2 separate regions of the Homo sapiens genome follow, and region 2 is linked to region 1. Evidence: promoter capture Hi-C in 16 types of primary human blood cells and fetal thymus (Javierre and others, 2016). All regions are on one chromosome and are shown on one strand. Each heading gives the region's core, a stretch centred on a gene start or on the middle of the fragment in contact. The rest is flanking DNA. Distances are from core to core; before and after follow the strand shown. Region 1 holds the start of AGTPBP1 (ATP/GTP binding carboxypeptidase 1). Region 2 overlaps CDK20 (cyclin dependent kinase 20).

The links. The method cuts DNA at HindIII sites, captures the fragments that hold promoters and counts their contacts. A CHiCAGO score of 5 or more calls a contact.
Region 2: a contact is called between a fragment that was not itself captured here and the fragment with the promoter of AGTPBP1 in region 1, in 3 of 17 cell types (naive CD8 T cells, activated CD4 T cells and fetal thymus). The highest score is 6.4, in naive CD8 T cells.

The regions. Positions count from the first base shown.
Region 1 is chr9:85,737,364-85,744,590 of GRCh38, reverse strand. It overlaps AGTPBP1 (ATP/GTP binding carboxypeptidase 1), which reads left to right and starts at 2,637. Exons shown (of 26, transcript NM_001330701.2): 1 at 2,637-2,816. RefSeq lists silencers at 2,314-2,913, 2,984-3,303 and an enhancer at 3,474-3,623. The HindIII fragment of the contact is 1,776 bases long and covers 2,137-3,912 here.
Region 2 is chr9:87,970,799-87,973,898 of GRCh38, reverse strand. CDK20 (cyclin dependent kinase 20) reads left to right here. Exons shown (of 8, transcript NM_001039803.3): 3 at 2,564-2,752; 4 at 3,002-3,100. Among named protein-coding and RNA genes, the nearest start is that of CDK20, 2.2 kb to the left of the region's middle. The HindIII fragment of the contact is 4,347 bases long and covers 1-3,100 here.

The sequences.
Region 1 (7,227 bases), core at 1,388-3,887:
CTTTCAGGATCCTTCTCTTTGCTGAGAGCTTTCCTTTTGCTTAACAAATTCTACTTCACTCACTCTTCAAGTGTCCGTGTACCTGATTTTTCCTGGTCTTGAGACAAGAACCTGGATCTAGCTGAGCTAAGGAGGAAACAATCCTGGATCAACATGGTTTATTGCCATGTGAAGATAATTTATTTTCTTAGGTTCACAATGTATAGAGGCAGAGAATTAAGAGAATAATTTCACAGGGAATACACTCCATAGATGATGTTTATTAACTACATAGTGAGTGAGTTCCAAAACTATTAAAACCTAGTTGTTCAATTAAGATTGAAGCAGACCTCTGTGGAAAGTAAAGTCTGATTAAGGATTGAGGTGGGTGTGGTATTAATGCCTGTAATCTCAGCATTTTGGGAGGCTAAGGCAGGAGGACTGCTGAGCCCAGGAGTTTGAGACCAGCCTGGGTGACTTAGGGAGACCCCGACTCTACAAAAACAATTAAAAAAATTAGCCAGGTGTGGTGACGTGTGCCTGTAGTCCCAGATACTCAGTGGGAGGCTGAGGTAGTACGATTCATTAAGCCTGGGAGGTCAAGGCTGCAGTGAGCCATGATTGCACTACTGTATTACAGCCTTGGCAACAGAGTGAGAGTCTTGTCTCAAAAAAAAAAAAAAAAGAAAGAAAAAGAAAAAGAAAAAGAAAAACAACTGAGGTGTACCTTTACCTTTTGGAGGCTGAGGTTCTCGGGAGAGATGGTGTCCAACATACAGGAGATCGGTGAGGATATGCAAGGTCCCACGATGCTAGAGGGCTGTGCCAGTGTTGGTGGACAGGCTTCAAAGCTTAAAGGCTAACAGGGTGTGGCCCTGTTGCAGCCTGAGCTGGTAGCGTTCAGGGAAGTGGCTGACAGAGCACGCGATCTGCCACCCGCTGAGCTCTCAAAGTATCTTGCAAATTCTTGAGTTTATATGTATTTCGAAATCCTGTAGTTGAGGTCAGTAACATATATATGGTGTTTGATAAGGTGTAACGTCACATTAGCTAGGAGAGGTGAAGTTTATTTCAACTTCATACACGTGGGATCTGATGAAGAGTGATGTCACATTCCCAGGGGGTGGGGGAGTAGCTCTAAGTTCTTAATTACCGCAAAACATAAATCACTCACTCTTGTGGCAAACTATGTGATTGGAATCATTTCAAAGCTATGTAATGCTGCTATTTATCTTGTGTGGGTTAATCTCCTGGGTCTGTGTTGTGGTCATCAAACTATGCTAACAGTGCTTGTGAAAGTGGGATTCAAATTCCACAAACACACACATCCACATAATATCTTCCTATATTGCAGGTTGACTCATTTAGAAACATGTTCTTTAAGAAAAGTTTCAGGTATATTACATACATATTTAGCATTATTGTAAAATTATTACATTATTATTGGGTATTTTCAGATAATACGTTTCTGATTGGGTGGTTTGGGGTGGTGGTTGTTTCAAAATTATTTTAAATACCGTAACCTATCTTTTAGTGCTCACGATGAGGGAAACTACGATGTTTATAAAATGGCAGTTTCTTGTTCATCTGAATAAAGACATCTACCAAGGGCAAACTGTAAGAAGCACTGTGGTGTACCTTGGGTTACTTTTTGAATTGCTTTCACACCTGCTTAATTTTATTTGAACAAGATCATAAAACAAAACAAAAATCTCACAGTTCTCAATGCATTCCCTTATCTAGTTGTGATATTACATTCCTTACCATAAACAGTAGCAAACATGTTCTTGTGCAACGTGAAAAAGTAAATGATGTCAGTATTTATTTGCAATACATTGCAGTACACTGAAGTACAGTCAAAACAGAAGGGGGTGTATTAGTAATTTCTCTGACACATTACTTTGGCTCAGATAAAACATTCCGCCTTTGCCTTCAGTAGCCAACTTAGCATTACCGTTTTGATTATATGCAGGCACTTTTTCAAAAAACAGTAAATCAGCATGCTATTTTGTTCGCTGCAGCACTAGGCATCTAATTTACTGAGATTTGGCCACAAGGTGCAATCCTGTTGTTTTCTGGGAGCCCGATTGTAGTAACAGCATGTCCCTTCCAGCCTCTTATTATGGACCCTCCTTGAGGTCAGGAAAGGTCTAAGCTTTACCGCAGTCCCCAGCGTTTGATGCGACCCCGGGATCACGTGGGGAGCTTTAAGAACCCTTCCTAAGAAAGTGACTGATTGATGGCGGGGGAGGGGGTGGGCGCGGGCTTAGTTCCGGGAAAAGGCTGGGGCCCTCGTTGGGAGTGTACAGAAAGATGACTTGAAGAACGTGGGGAGTCGCTCGCAGTTCGGTACGGAGGGGCGGTGGCCGGGGCTGCTGGGTACAAGGGACCGGCAGCGCGCGGAACACCCGCCCCTAATTCCCGCTCCCGTGCGCGCTCCGCCCCCACGCGCGCGCTCCCTCCCGTCAGGCGCGCAGAGAGGCGGGGCGCAGCGCGCACGGAGGTAACAAGGGACGCGGCGGGAAGAGGGCGTGCGCTCCGCCCCGCCCCTTTCGCGGCCTCGCACGCCCCGCCCCCACTCCCTGCGCGTGCTGGGAGCCGGCTGGCAAGGCGTGCGGTGGGCGGGGCGCCGCGCTGACGTTGCCCGGGATGCGGACAGGTTCCGCCGCCTCCAGCGCCGCCGCCGCAGCTGCCGCCGCCGCCGCCTCCGCCTCGCCTGCCACCGGGGTTTGTATGAAAACACCGGGCGGCGGGCGGCGAGGGATCCGCCGTGATCCAGGTGCTGAGCCGGGTGCTGCGGCTCTGCGCGGTCCCCGCCAGCGCCCCATCCTGAGCCGGTGAGCGCCCTGCTGCAGTCCTCATGTCCCGGCCGGCCGTCCCTCTGCTCTCCCCGGGCCGCGGGAGATGCGAGCGACGGCGCCCGGGGGTAGGAGGGGCGACCCCGGATCCCTGCGCCCCTTACCTGACGGGTTGTGTAACGCATGTTACACATGTGACGCGTGAGGGGAACGCACTCGGTCTTGAGGGAAAGCCCTGACGGGGTGGGGCTTTGACTGGGTCTGGAAAACGCCTTCCCCAGTCCCCGGACCCTCGGTGGATCCCCGTCCCAGACCTTGCGGAGGGTATCGGGCGCGGTCTCTGGGCGGAGGCCGCCCTTTCTGCTCAGCCCTTTCTCTCGGGCCCGAGCTCGCGGCGCCGCGGGGAGTCCAGCCGAGGGGCTGCAGGGCCGGGGGCGGGCGCGCCCAGCCCCGCTCTCCCCCGCCCCAGTGGTAGCGGGCCGCTGAATCGCGGGCCCCTGTGCTTCGAGAATTCTAGCGTTCCCGACTGAGCGCCAGCAAGGTGGGATTTGCTGTGACATCGGCGATGGGCACGTTTGCTTCCTCTCGCTGGGTGGTTTGAGCTGAAGTGTGTCTTCTGTTTACAACTTGTCGCCTTGAGCGTTTGGTTTGAACCTGAATCAGATCACCCTGGATGACAGTGCAGAGTTTCCTTAGTGTCTTCCTTCCTGAATTGCGGGTTCTCAATTGCAAGTGTTCAAGGACTGTTGTAACCCAAAGGCTTGCTCGACTCTACCGTTGTTTTACCCCTTGTGCGGTATAAACCTCTTACGAGCACCAGGGCAATTGGAGTTGGTTGGGTTCCTTTCTTGGGCGTTTACTCATTGTAGAATGGAGTTTTCATGCATCATAGTGTAATCGATGTGAATGTTGATAATTTAAAGCCCATTTCCCGTTTTAACATAGCTTACTCAAGTGCCTGAAGATAGCGGAAATTTTCTTTGGCAGTATTAATTCTATGTGGGTTTTTTCCTTCAGGTGTTTAACATTGTAGTTGTGTTTAATTACAATGCATGACAATTTGTAGTTAGAAAGGACCTTAACAGTCTTCTTAATCGGTCATTTTCACTTACCTTTTATGTCCGTTTTTTAAGCTTTATGTAAATCAAATTATCCTTTGTGAACTTCTGAATTATTCTTATAAACTGGTTGTCTGAGAAAACCGGAAAGTTATTTTTGTAATTGTATTGTGGAATGTTTTTAGTTCAGTAGGCCAAAAAAGAAATGATTTATTTAAGGAACTTTAAATGGTGCTTATTTTAAAACATGTGCCAAATGTCAAAACCAAACAAAACTCTGAAAGATCTGTATTTCCTATGTAGAATTACTGCGAAATAATAAGTCGTGCCTTACCCACTGTTTCTCATCATGCAGGCAGAGTTCTAATATGACTTGCTCTTTTTCCCATTCCACTTCTCTTAAGTTAAATTCTATGGTGAAGTTACAGGTTCATTTTTAATGATCACAAAACTCTGCCTTGAATTGATTAATCACATAATTACAACTGCAGACTCACTCTGAACTCGGAAATGAAGTGGATAGGCTTAAAACTACCCTCGTATTTGGCCAACATTGCAAAGCATTTAAATCTATTAATTAAACTTTTGTAGAAGCAATTTTTATAAAGCTTTTCCGAATTGAGGCATTCTTCTCTTTAGAAAAGTCTGGCTAGGCTGCTATATAATAATGGTTTTACTTCCATTAGCAGAAGGAAAAGAGGTCCAACAGTTATGAAATTTTGTAATTTGTATTTTACTTTTTTTTTTTTTTTGAGACGGAGTCTCACTCTCTCGCCCAGGCTAGAGTGCCAGTGGTGCGATCTCGGCTCACTGCAACCTGCCCCTACCGGGTTCAAGCGATTCTCCCGCCTCAGCTTCTTGATTATAGGCGCGCGTCACCACGCCTAGCTAATTTTTGTGTTTTTAGTAGAGACGGGTTTCACCATGTTGGCCAGGCTGGTATCGAACTCCCAACCTCAGGTGATCCACTAGCCTCAGCTTCTTAAGGTGCAGGGATTACAGGCGTGAGCCACCAAGCTTGGCCTGAATTTTTTTTTTTTTTTTTTTGAGACGGAGTTTCGCTCTTGTCGCCCAGGCTGGAGTGCAGTGGCACGATCTTGGCTCACTACAGCCTCTGCCTCCCGGGTTCAAGCGATTCTCCTGCCTCAGCCTCCCGAATAGCTGGGATTACAGGAGCACACCACCACGCCCGGCTAAGTTTTTGTTTTTAGTAGAGACGGGGTTTCACCATGTTACCCAAGCTCGTCTTGAACTCCTGACCTCAGGTGGTCTGCCCACCTCGGCCTCCCAAAGTCCTGGGATTACAGGCGTCCGCCACCACGCCCGTCCTGGCCTGAATTTTTTTAAACCTCATCCAAAGTATTCATCTTCCCAAATCTGCTTTTCTTGCTTGAAGTCCCCCACTATCTGAAAGTTGAACAGTGCGTGAATAGCAATGGATGCACCTGTCAGAGGGCCATCTGCAAGATGGGAGCTTTCCTTAGGCAATGGGTTTCAGTATAAACAACATAAATTTTGTAGGGTGGGCACTGAATTTTAAACTTCAGATGTTATTGTTGATTACTGTGCCTGTGTACTATGGTGTAGTGGCTAAGGAGTTGGGCCTCAGAGCCAGATGGCTCGGTTTGGGTCCTGGCTTTGCTTTAGGCAAGTTATTTTTATTTTTATTTTTTTAAGACAAGTTATTTGTCCTTTTTGTACTTTAATTTTCTCAGCTCCAAAAATGACATAATATTAGTGTATACTCTTAAGATATTCTCAAATATTAAGTGATTAATACAAGTAAAGTGCTTAGCCCACAGTGCCTGGCATGTAGTAAGTGCCCAGTAAATATTGCTATTATTACCGTTGCTCTTCCTCAGTCTTCAAAGGGATCTAGTAAGCAGAAAAAGGACTTTTGGGGGATGGAGCAGTATTAGTGCAGATTAATTCCACTATGACCCATTTGCTCCTTTGGGGTTAAATGAGAGCTTAGTCTCACTGTCCTGCCTCCTGCCTTGGAAACATGTAAGTCAGTTTTAAATAGAACAGCTAGACCCTGAGCTGGGTGCCCTGGGATGCTACTGGAGAGCTGTTGATAAATCCGTTTGTCCCTTCTGACAGAACCTTGGATTGTCTCCCTCCTGTTGGTGATGGCTGCTATTTTAATCTTTTAATCATCTGTTTTTGAGTTTGTGATTGGGTGTTTCTTTGACTATAATGTGCCGCTATCAAAAATGTGATCTGTCAAAATATTGGTAGGTATGTACTTGTTTATTTGATCAGAATATTGTATGTTGTTTCCAGGGCACACAAAATCAATTTTTTTAAGCATTCTTTTTTATCTAAGCATTTTCTTTTTTATTGATATTATATAGTGTGAAATCAGTTTTGATTTGACATTGTGTTCATTTTCAGCTTTCATATAATTTTCCTAGGAACTTTTTTTTTCCCTCCAGTATGATTTTACATACTTGTTCTTGGTTTGCAGGGATCTAATATTAAAACTCTAAATGCTTTCAAACTTTTGGTTAGGACCCTTTTACATTGTTAAAAGTTGTTGAGGATCCCCAAAAAGCTTTTGTGAATTTATCTATGTTTACTGTATTGTAAATGAAAAGGGAAATATAAATTGTCAGTTCACTTAAAATGACAATTATAAACTCTTTACATGTTAATATAAACACCCTATTTTTAATGAAAACAACTTTTTTTTAAAACAAAAAATAAGGTAGTGAGAAAAGTGGCATTGTTTTACTTTTTTTGTAAATCTGTCTGGTTTAATGGAAACAGCTGGATTATCATATCTGCTCCTGCATCCAGTCTATTGCAATATGTTGTTTGGGTTGAAATACATATGGAGAAAATCCAGTCTCACATAGTTAATGGCTAAACAGGGTGGGGAGGCCGGGGAGGGAGCATTTTAATAGCCTTTTCCGATAATTGTGGACATTCTTGTTTGGTATTATATTAAAACTCAGTAAGTGGCAATTTCTTAAAGGTTAGATGCCGTGAGAAATCCAGTAAGTGGATTTTTGCATGCTCTAGTAAAACCCATTGGTTGGAACTTTGAATGGGTCTTATACTCATTCCTGAGATTGTAACATCATTCCTTGGTCATTTGTAAATATTGGTTCAGTGTTATGCAGATCTTCCAAATGTTGACATCTTTCATCATGCAATATTAAAGAAAGTTATGGTTGTTAATATCACCACCCATTTTGTTAGAGACAAATTATTGGGAAGCTGTTTAGGTCTTGACATGACAATGGTGGATATGAGTTTTCCAGAATTCGGATTTTTGCTTGAAAGCTCAAATTTTATCATTGGCAACAAATGTGACTTGTTTACTTAAAGTGACAAGCTCAGTTTATTCATTTCTGAGAAAACCTCTGCCAAAATATTCCAATTTG
Region 2 (3,100 bases), core at 141-2,640, 2.2 Mb before region 1:
GTATTCTCACCCTCAGTCGCTCGTTCCCACTTCTTTGTGCCTTCATTTTCCCAGCTACGCCTTCACCAGCTTTCAGGGATTTCCTCCCGCTGTCACTCACACACACTGCTCATTCATCTGCCTCCTTACCCCCTTTTGCCCTTTTTTGTCCACTTGTTCACCTTTATTTACCTATTTCTTTCATTTCTCACACATTCACTCTCATTTGCCTACTTATTTCTTAATGTATTCATTCATTCACCGACTTTTTTTCTCAAAACATGTAGTGATTTATAATGTAACTAGCACCTATTGAGCTCCCGATGTGTTCTGCAGGCATTATATACATTGTCATTTTGAGACCTCTTTACTACTGTACAAGGCAGGTTTCCAGATCTCTGTTTCTCAGGTGAGAGGAGGAGGTTATGTCACCAGCTCTTGGGCCCTCCGTTAGTCAGTAGAGGGTTTGGCCCAGGTTTGATTGAGAGTCCATTCTTCCCTTGGGACCTCCCATAGGCTCTACCCTGTGTTGGGCACTGGTGACACAGAGAAACCAGCTCCAGCCCAGCTCCTGAGGACTTAAGTGTGCTAACAAGAGACAGAGGCAACAGGGCCCACCTAGTGTGGTTCGTGCTGTGATAGGGTACCGGGAGGGGCTGCTGGAACACGAAGAGGGGCATCTTTCACCCCTAGTGTCATTACTCTTTTGGTGCTCTCTCTCACCCATGTCGAAATAGGGAATGTATTTGACTCCCTGGAGAGTTAACAGGGTTGGGTCTCTGTGATCTGGAGATATGCATGATATATTGGATGACAAAAGCATGTTATAAAATTTTGTGTCATCTGGGTTTTGTTTGGAAATATTATATATGTGAATGTGTATTTGTGTGTGCCATATCTGTTGTAAAGTCTGGTAGAATACACTCTAAGATTGACTGTAGGATTTTTCTTTTGTTCTTTTTCTGTTGGATTTTATGTCTTACCTGAATGTGTGCATGTGTTTTGATCTGTTAAATGGTTGTGTACTACCTGAAAAATCCGAAAACAGCAATCAGGCCATTTTGATTTTTTGAGGAAGATAAAAGGGCTTCCAGACAGCCATGTGTGGGATAGGTGGAGAGATCCATAAGGAAGCTGGTGATATGGTCCCTACATCCAGTTGGTCAGCAATTCTGAAGGTTCTAACTTTAAAACATACTCTAGATTTGCTCCTTGCCCAAGTCATCATCACCACTCATCAGAATGACAGTGGCAGCCTCCCCACTGCTCTCCATAGCCACAGTCCGGAGGGCTTTGTCAAAAGTGTAAGTTAAGTCATCGGCTCCCCTGCGTAAAAAGCCCTGGTGGCTTCTCTTCACACTTAGAGCACTATCACCATGTGCCCACCTCCAGCTGGCCTCTCCCTTTTCTCTCATTCAACACAACTTCTTAGGCATCTCTCCAGTGACCAGCACCTATCTAGGGTCCAGGAGCACAGAACAAGGCAGACACATCCTTCCCTTAAACAATCTCATGTACTCACATCCCTCTAGCCTCCTTCTGTGCTGGCGTTAGGGCCTTGCACTTGCTTTTCTTCCTGCTCAGAGCTTTATCCCAGATCCCCACAAACTGGGTCCTCATCTAGCCCCACCCCACCTAAATAAAGAAGTATCCTTTTCTCCACTCACAGAATCACACTATCCTCTTCTAGTTCTGTTGATTTTTTTTCTTTTTTTGATACAGGGTCTCACTCTGTCACCCAGGCTGGAGTGTAGAAGTGCGATTTTGTCTCCCTGTAGTCTCAACCTCCTGGGCTCAGGTGATCCTCCCACCTCAGCTTCCCAAGTAGCTAGGACTACAGGCACGTGTCACCATGCCTGGCTAGTTTTTTGTATTTTTTGTAGAGACAAGGTTTCACCATGTTGCCCAGGCTGGTCTCAAACACCTGGGTTCAAGCCATCCGCCCACCTTGGCCTCTCAAAGTACTGGGATTACGGGCATGAGACGTCATGCCCAGCCCCCTTGTATTTTGGTTCCTGTACTTACAGAATCTGAATATATCCCTTTTATTCATTTATTTGTTAAACTGTTTGTCCTTTGTGCTGTGAGTTCATTAAGAGTCCTGTCTCTCAGCTCACTCTCTGTGTAGCCTGGCTCCTCTGACAGTACTGGCCTCAGTGTTTGTGATGTGTCTGTAGCTGTCCCAGCACTGGGAAAGGTGGGATTCCTGGTGTCCTTTCCTTGGTGCTGGGATTCGGTGGTTCTAGAGGAAACAGGAGGAGACCTGTCCATCTCATGTGTGACCATCCAGATGATTTTCAGGCGGGTAGGCTGGGTGGGCGGACCAGATGGTGCCACTAAATGACCTTTTTTAGACCTTTTAGTGTTCATGGAGAATTAGAGTGGGGGCACACCTTATCTCAGGAGAGCAGAGCAAATCATGAGCATCGAGCTCTCTGATTCTTAGCTCAGGTCCACGTCACCTTCTTTGCTTACTGTCTTTTTGGATACAGGGTCCTCTGTCAGGGCATGGGCTGGGGTCTCAGGGTCACAGAGAGGGTCTGGTGACTTGAGTCTGGGGGCTAACAAGATGTCCTGCCCACAGGTGGTACAACTGAAGGCTGTGTTCCCACACGGTGGAGGCTTTGTGCTGGCCTTTGAGTTCATGCTGTCGGATCTGGCCGAGGTGGTGCGCCATGCCCAGAGGCCACTAGCCCAGGCACAGGTCAAGAGCTACCTGCAGATGCTGCTCAAGGGTGTCGCCTTCTGCCATGCCAACAACATTGTACATCGGGTCAGTCTCAGCATAGGCCGGGCATGGGGTCTGGGGAGCTGACTTGGCTTGGGGATGGGGCTAGCCCTTGTAAAAGGTGTGATAAGAAGTTGGGACAGAGCTGGTCAAGGCCTCCAGGTAAGTGGCCAGGGCATGGCCCTGGAGGAGGTGGGGACCGGGGCTGACCTGAGTGGTTAGACTGCCAAGCCCGCTTGTCCCAAGGTCCTATGGGGGATTTGGAGGGACTGATGCTTCTTTTGGTACTCCCAGGACCTGAAACCTGCCAACCTGCTCATCAGCGCCTCAGGCCAGCTCAAGATAGCGGACTTTGGCCTGGCTCGAGTCTTTTCCCCAGACGGCAGCCGCCTC